Linked DNA regions of Homo sapiens: region 2 is linked to region 1. Evidence: promoter capture Hi-C in human tissues and cell types (Jung and others, 2019). All regions are on one chromosome and are shown on one strand. Each heading gives the region's core, a stretch centred on a gene start or on the middle of the fragment in contact. The rest is flanking DNA. Distances are from core to core; before and after follow the strand shown. Region 1 holds the start of OR2M7 (olfactory receptor family 2 subfamily M member 7). Region 2 has its middle 21 kb from the start of OR2T2.

What was found. The method cuts DNA at HindIII sites, captures the fragments that hold promoters and counts their contacts. A contact is called where the count stands out against the background at its distance.
Region 2: a contact is called between a fragment that was not itself captured here and the fragment with the promoter of OR2M7 in region 1, in 3 of the 25 tissues and cell types used here (neural progenitor cells, ovary and small bowel).

What each region holds. Positions count from the first base shown.
Region 1 is chr1:248,322,394-248,326,139 of GRCh38, reverse strand. It overlaps OR2M7 (olfactory receptor family 2 subfamily M member 7), which reads left to right and starts at 1,572. Exons shown (of 1, transcript NM_001004691.1): 1 at 1,572-2,510. The coding sequence starts at 1,572. The coding sequence ends at 2,510. The HindIII fragment of the contact is 10,500 bases long and covers 1-3,746 here.
Region 2 is chr1:248,423,082-248,426,827 of GRCh38, reverse strand. No RefSeq gene overlaps it. Among named protein-coding and RNA genes, the nearest start is that of OR2T2, 21 kb to the left of the region's middle. The HindIII fragment of the contact is 4,581 bases long and covers 1-3,746 here.

The DNA.
Region 1 (3,746 bases), core at 323-2,822:
TCTCACACAATAAAAACTTAATGCCACAACATACAAGAAACATAACTCTAAATTAGAAAACCCTATGTTTTCCCAAAATCTTCCACACATTTCTATTTTCTCTGTGTATGTTCTATTTATTGCATTTCATTTTGTGGAATTTATATACGTACAACCCTTTCCTGTGATCTGGTGTCTTTCTCACTTGCTCAGAGTCTTTGCCAAAAGCCATTAGATGTGTGAGGTTTCCCTTGACTACTTTATTCAAAGGTGAACATACTAGTGCATTTCTAACACCCTTCTTTGACTTACTTTTCTCCAAAATGTTTATCCTCTTATGACATAAAGTGTTTTATAATCATCATCTGATCACACTCACTATGACCTGTATGGACACGGGCTTTCTTTATTCTGGTCACTGTGGTAGCCCCAGTGATCAACACATAGCCAGGCTTCATAAATGTTGTTGAAAGGATGAATCTCATGCTTTTCTTAATTTCTGTTTTTATATCTACTTATTTTCTATAGGATATATTGGATGTATTAATTTCCTACGAATGCCAGTACAGAGAAATCACAAACAGGTTACCTAAAACAATAGAAATTTATTCTCTCATAGTTTTGGAGTCTAGAAATCTGAAATCAAGTTGTCAGCAGGGTTGGACACTTCTGAGGGCTCTAAGAGGATGAATCTGTCCCATTCCTCTCTCCCAGGTTCCTGTTATAACTAACAGTTTTTGGCATTTCTTGATTTGTAGATGCACCACTCCAATCCCTGCCTCCCCTATCACATGGTATCCTCAGTGTCTCAGTCTTCACATGGCCACCCACTTATCAGAACATGAGTCATATTGAATTAGAGAGACCCACTCTGCTCCAACTTGACCTCACCTTAACTAATTATACCCTTTATGTATTTCTAAACAAGCTCACTTGCTATCTTTTGGGGAAGAAACATAATTCAATGCATCACACTGGGCTATAGAAAAAAGAGCATATGTCTTAGATTTGTATAATTGAAAATCTTTTCAGTGAATCCACTTACTGTATAGAAAACTTACTATAAAGTATAGATAAAATACTTTAAACTGTAAAGTAATAGGTAAACATACACATTTTCTTAACTCTGGTAGGAAAAATGCCTACTATCATGTGAATAAAGGCACAAATTTATTGTCCATTTCTAGTATTGTGTTGGTCACATGGTGACTGAACCTGAATTTCTCTATCAATTTACCTGTAACAGGCTTCTGATGTTTTAGGAACTGTTTGCTTTGGAGACATATTCTTTTTGGAAAAACTCCATTGATCATGTAGTAGATATTGTTATTGTAATTTTTCAATGGAGAAAAAGAATGCTTAGAAGAAAAGTTAGGACAAGCTCCATAATTTTATAAGTGAGACACTGCTGAGAGAACATATTTCTTTATGATTCCATAATTCTTAAACTTTGAGTTTTATAATTCTGGCCATCCTGTATTGATCACCAAACTACAGAATTTACCATAATCACATGCTTTATAAGGCACTGGGTAAATGTTTATCAAATTAATGAACTGTTTTTGCGGTGCTAGGTAACAGGCATATTCATCATGGCATGGGAGAATCAGACCTTCAACTCTGACTTCCTCCTCCTGGGAATCTTCAATCATAGCCCCACCCACACCTTCCTCTTCTTTCTGGTCCTGGCCATCTTTTCAGTGGCCTTCATGGGAAACTCCATCATGGTTCTCCTCATCTACCTGGATACCCAGCTCCACACCCCCATGTACTTCCTCCTCAGCCAACTGTCCCTCATGGACCTCATGCTCATCTGCACCACTGTACCCAAGATGGCCTTCAACTACTTGTCTGGCAGCAAGTCCATTTCTATGGCTGGCTGTGCCACACAAATTTTCTTCTATATATCATTGCTTGGCTCCGAATGCTTTCTGTTGGCTGTTATGTCTTATGACCGCTACACTGCCATTTGCCACCCTCTAAGATACACCAATCTCATGAGACCCAAAATTTGTGGACTTATGACTGCCTTCTCCTGGATCCTGGGCTCTACAGATGGAATCATTGATGCTGTAGCGACATTTTCCTTCTCCTACTGTGGGTCTCGGGAAATAGCCCACTTCTGCTGTGACTTCCCTTCCCTACTAATCCTCTCATGCAATGACACATCAATATTTGAAGAGGTTATTTTCATCTGCTGTATAGTAATGCTTGTTTTCCCTGTTGCAATCATCATCACTTCCTATGCTCGAGTTATTCTGGCTGTCATTCACATGGGATCTGGAGAGGGACGTCGCAAAGCTTTTACTACTTGTTCCTCTCACCTCATGGTGGTGGGAATGTACTATGGAGCAGGTTTGTTCATGTGCATTCAGCCCACATCTCATCATTCTCCTATGCAGGACAAGATGGTGTCTGTATTCTACACCATCGTCACTCCCATGCTGAATCCTCTCATTTATAGCCTCCGCAACAAGGAAGTGACCAGAGCATTAATGAAAATCTTAGGAAAGGGCAAGTCTGGAGATTGAGTTACCTCATAAATTTCATGTTTTGCTGTCTGCTAACGTCTTCTTTTTATTGTCTCTCTTTTTCTATTAAGTCCTAAAAATATCACTAATTGTGTGCATTGCTCAACATATTGATGGGTACCAGTATAATTTATTTCAGATAAACTATTTTAGATTTTTTAATATTCAATTCAGTTATGACTACAATATAAGGCATTTTCAATAAAGACATTCCATTTTTATTTTTAAATTTCATTATCATTTTGGGAAACACATAGTGTTTGGTTACATTAATAAGTTCTTTAATGGTGATTTCTGAGATTTTAGTGCAGCGATCAACCAAGCAGTGTTCGCTGTACCTAATGTGTAGTCTTTTAGCCCTCTCCAGTCCCCAACATTTCTTCCAAGTCCCCAAGTCCAGTGTATCATTTTTATGCCTTGGTGTTTCATAGCTTAGCTGGCACATATGAGTGAGAATATACGATGTTTGGATTTCCATGCCTGTGTGACTTCACTTTGTATAATAGTCTCCAATTCCAACCAGGTTGCTGCAAATGCTATTAATTAATTCATTTTTATGGAAGAATAGTATCCCATGGTATGTATATACCACCTTTTATTTATCCACTCATTGACTGATGATCATTTAGGCTGATTCCATCTATTTGCAATTGCAAATTGTGTTGATATAAACATGCAACATGTAAGTACCTTTTTTGTATAATGACTTCTTTTCTTCTGAGTATATACCTTGTAGTGGTATTGCTGGATCAAATGGTAAATCTACTTTTAGTTGTTTAAAGAATCTTCACACTGTTTTTCCTAGTGTTGTAATAGTTCACATTCCCATCAACAGTGTAAAAGGGTTCCCTTTTCACCACATCCATGTCAACATCTATTATTGTTTGATTTTTTGATTATGGCCATTCTTGCAGGAGTGAGTTTGTATTGCACTGTGGTTTTGATTTGTATTTCCCTGATAATTAGTGATGTTCAGCATTTTTCCTTATGCTTTTTGGCCGTTTGTATATCTCCTTGAGAACTGTCTATTCAAGTCCCTTAGCCCAATCCCAGTTTGATGGGATTGTTTGTTTTCTTCTTGCTAATTTGTTTGAGTTCTTTGTAGATTCTGGATATTATTCCATTGCCAGATGTATAGATTGAGAAGATTTTCTCCCACTCTCTGGGTTGTCTGTTAACTCTGTTGATTATTTCTTTTGCTTTGCAGAAGTTTTTTAGTTTAATTTAGTCTTATCT
Region 2 (3,746 bases), core at 862-3,361, 100 kb before region 1:
GTATCAAAACTTTGCAAAGTTTATAATTAGTGGTACAGGGGGCGGGGGTGGGGGGGAAGTAAGACATTTTTTCCTTGCTCATCAAAAGGTTCGTGGTTGGTAACTTCTAACAAAAGACAGATTAGCAACAGAAAAGTATAGCAAATTTACTTAGTAGAAGTTTCATGAGGCATGCGAGCCTTAAAAGTATGATTAGAACATTTAAAAATATGATATAATGGAAATAAACTTAGGAGGAGGACTTAGCGAGGTTTGTTCAGATTCTTAGTGGCCTCCCCATGTGACATTTTTTTCCCTCTGGGCATTGGTCAGGGCCCCTCTGGAATAAAGGGCTTATTACCTTCTCTCAGAACAGGTAGGTCTGAGAATTCTTTTGTGGACAGCTCTCAGGGGAGAAGGGCAGAAAAAATCAGAAAGTGACTTTTCTACCTCTTCGGTTTTCTCAGTTTTCTTCAGCTTATTTAGTATGTCAAGTTTGCATTTGATGAAAAAGCTGAACACTGTAAAATATTTAAAGAGGTTTATTCTGAGCCAATATGAGTGACGATGGCCGGGGAAAAGCCTCAGAAGATCCTGAGAAAGTGTGCCCAGGGTAACTTCTGTCTCCCTAAAACTTAGGGAAAGAACTTGCAGGCAAAGTCATAAATCAATACATGTAAAATATACATTGTTTCAGCCTGAAAAAGCAGGACATGAAGTGGAAGGCTTATGAGTCATAGGTGGATGCAAAGATTTTTCTGATTGGCAATTGGTTGAAAGAGTTAAACTAAAGACTTGAAGTCAGTAGAAAAAAATGTTTGAGTTAAGGTAAGGGAGTTTGTGGAAGCTAAGATTCTTGTTACATATATGAAGCCTCCATGTAGCTGGCTTCAGAAAGAATAGATGGTAAATGTCTCTTTTTGGACCTTAAAAGGTGTGAGCCTCACAGTCTATCTTTCCTGGATCTGGAAAAGGCCTAGCTGCACTAATGGCAGATGCAAAATTTCCCCCACAAAAGATAGCTTTGCAGGGCCATTTCGAAATCTGTCATATAAATATATTTTGTGGTAAAATATTTTTATTTCTTTCAGTGTCTACTATCTGTCATGTGATGCTATATGGGAGTCAGGTTGGAATTTGGTATCTTATTGTTTTGTCAGTCCTGTGATCTCTATTTTAATGTTAATTCCACAATGGAGGGAGTGCAACAAGGTGTGCCCAATCCCCCTTCCCTCATGGCCTGAAATTTACTTTTTCAGATTGCTCTCAGCTCCACTGGCCAAGAAGGGGAATCCATTCAGTTGATTGGGGGGCTTAGGGTTTTACTTTTAGATTTCATCAAGAAGCCATATTTGGAAGGATCTTGTTCTGAGCCCTGACAGAGGAGTTTAAAATTTTTCACATCTGTCTATTAATTCATCATAGACTAAACTAGTTTACGCAGTTAAATAAAATAATGAACTATTTCAAAACAAAATTTGACTCTAGTAGACAGTGTCTGCACAATCATAGCAATCCAGTTGTGAAAAATGTTATAAAAGAACCAAGAAATAACCATGTGACTACAAAACAATGAGGGATTAGGCATCAGAAGACTGAAAATAAGCAACATACTTGAGTGTACTCTATTTTCCATCTCTCTGATTTTATTGTATTTACTCTTGCATTCCATGAGACAGTGTTTCTGCCTCTATCCAAAATTAGACCTCCTACTTGGGCTCTGTGTTGCAACCTCAGAAAATAGTAATAATAATAATAATAAAATAAATCCCAAGCCCTGTAGTTGACTGAATGGGAACTCTCTTGCCCAGGGAGATCTCAAAGAAATCTGAAAAACTAGTTCAGGCCATGACAGGAAGGGAGGTCAGACATGACTCCTTGTACTCCGTTTGTTTGGAGTTTAGGTACAACTGACCAGCATTAACATTAACACAGTGATTATAAGACGGACAAAACAGACTGTGGCAACAATAGCAAATTCCAACCTGACTCTGATATAGAATCACATGACAGATAACAGGCCCTGAAGGAAATAAAAGTATTTTACCGCAGAATGTATTTCTTTGACATGTTTTGGAATGGCCCTGCAAAGCCAACTCTTCTGGGGGAAATCTGAATTCTGTATAGAATCTGCTTCCCTTTCTATGTCTCATAAGGATCCAGAAAACATTTAACTAAGAGTCTGACACCTTTTACCATCTATCCTCTCTGAAGCCTGCTACTGAGAAGCTTTCATAGGTGGATTAAAAAGTTTTTTGACTGGCAATTTGTTGAAAGAGTTAAGCTAAATACTTGTGGTCTCTAGCATTTCCATTGAGTGCTAAATGACTGACCAGCATTAACATTAAAACAGAGATCATGAGACTGACAAAACAGATTATAGGTGGTAATAAGATACTAAATTTCAACCTGACTCTCATATAGCACCACATGACAGATAGCAAACCATGAAGTAAATAAAAATACTTTACCCTGAAATATATTTATTCGACAAATTTTGAAATGGCCCTGCAAAGCTATCTTTTGTGGGGGAAATTTTGCATCTGTAGAGAAACTTTATTAATGCCGCTAAGCCTTTTCCAGATCCAGGAGAGAGTAACTAAGAACCTGACACCTTTTAAGGTGAAAGAGAGACATTTGCCAACTATTGTTTCTAAAGCCTGATACATGGAAGCTTCCTCTACATGACAAGAACGTTGGCTTCCGCAACCCCATTATCTTAACTCAAGCGTTTCTTTCTATAACAAAAACCTTGGCTTCCACAACTATGTAATCTTATGCATTCCTTTCTACTGACGTTTTAAGTCTTTAGACAAAGCTTAACTCAACCAATTGCCAATCAGAAAATTGGTGAATCTATTTCTGACCTGGGAGCCTTGACTTTAACATGTCTAAATTTTCTGGAACCAATATATACCCTTCATGTATTGATTTATCTCTTTGATTATAACTTTGTCTCCCTAAAATGTATCAAACCAAGCTATAACCCAACCACAATGGGCACATATTCTCAGGAACATCTGGGGTTGTGTCCTGGGCCATGGTCACTCATGGCTCAGAATAAACCTCTTCAAATATTTTAGAGTTTCACTTTTCTTCATCAACATTATTTGGTGCCCAATGCAGGACCTCAGAGAAGACTAAGGACTCTCCTCCCCAAAAGAAGTTGTGTGAACTTGGAAATAAGGTACCAATATGGGCTTGTTACCAGTGGAGGGTCTTGACTACAAGTTGTCCAGGTCCTGCTTCCAGACCTTGGTGTTTTCTCTTTTAGGAAGTTAGCATAAATTGGCCTTAAGTTCCCTGTCTCCAGGTCTCCAGATCATATTCTCCTGCTGCAGGCTCATTGAAAGCCTCCTGACTTTGAGCTTCTCCATAGGTGGAACTGGTAAGTAAGTCTTCCTGAGCCACAGAACCCTTACGTGGTTAATAGTACTTTGGTTTATTCTGAGCTGGTCTTTTCCTGGGAACTTGTTGTTTCAGATTCTAATTTTGGATTCACAGGTTCATTCTAGAGTCTTCTCATTGCTTTTTTCTCCAAAAATTAGTCTCAATTGGTTCATCTGTGCATTTGCTTGAAAAACCTGACTTTGTGTAAATGAATGAGAGACAGCTTCTGAGCCCCACTGCACTGAAACCCACACTACAGTCTGGCTCCTCCATTAAAAAAAAGAAAACCTGGGAAGCAAATCCTCTAAGATTGAGAAAAGACAAGGAGATGACCTCCTTTGGGGCACCCCTGGGGGTTTTATGGCACTCGCAATTGT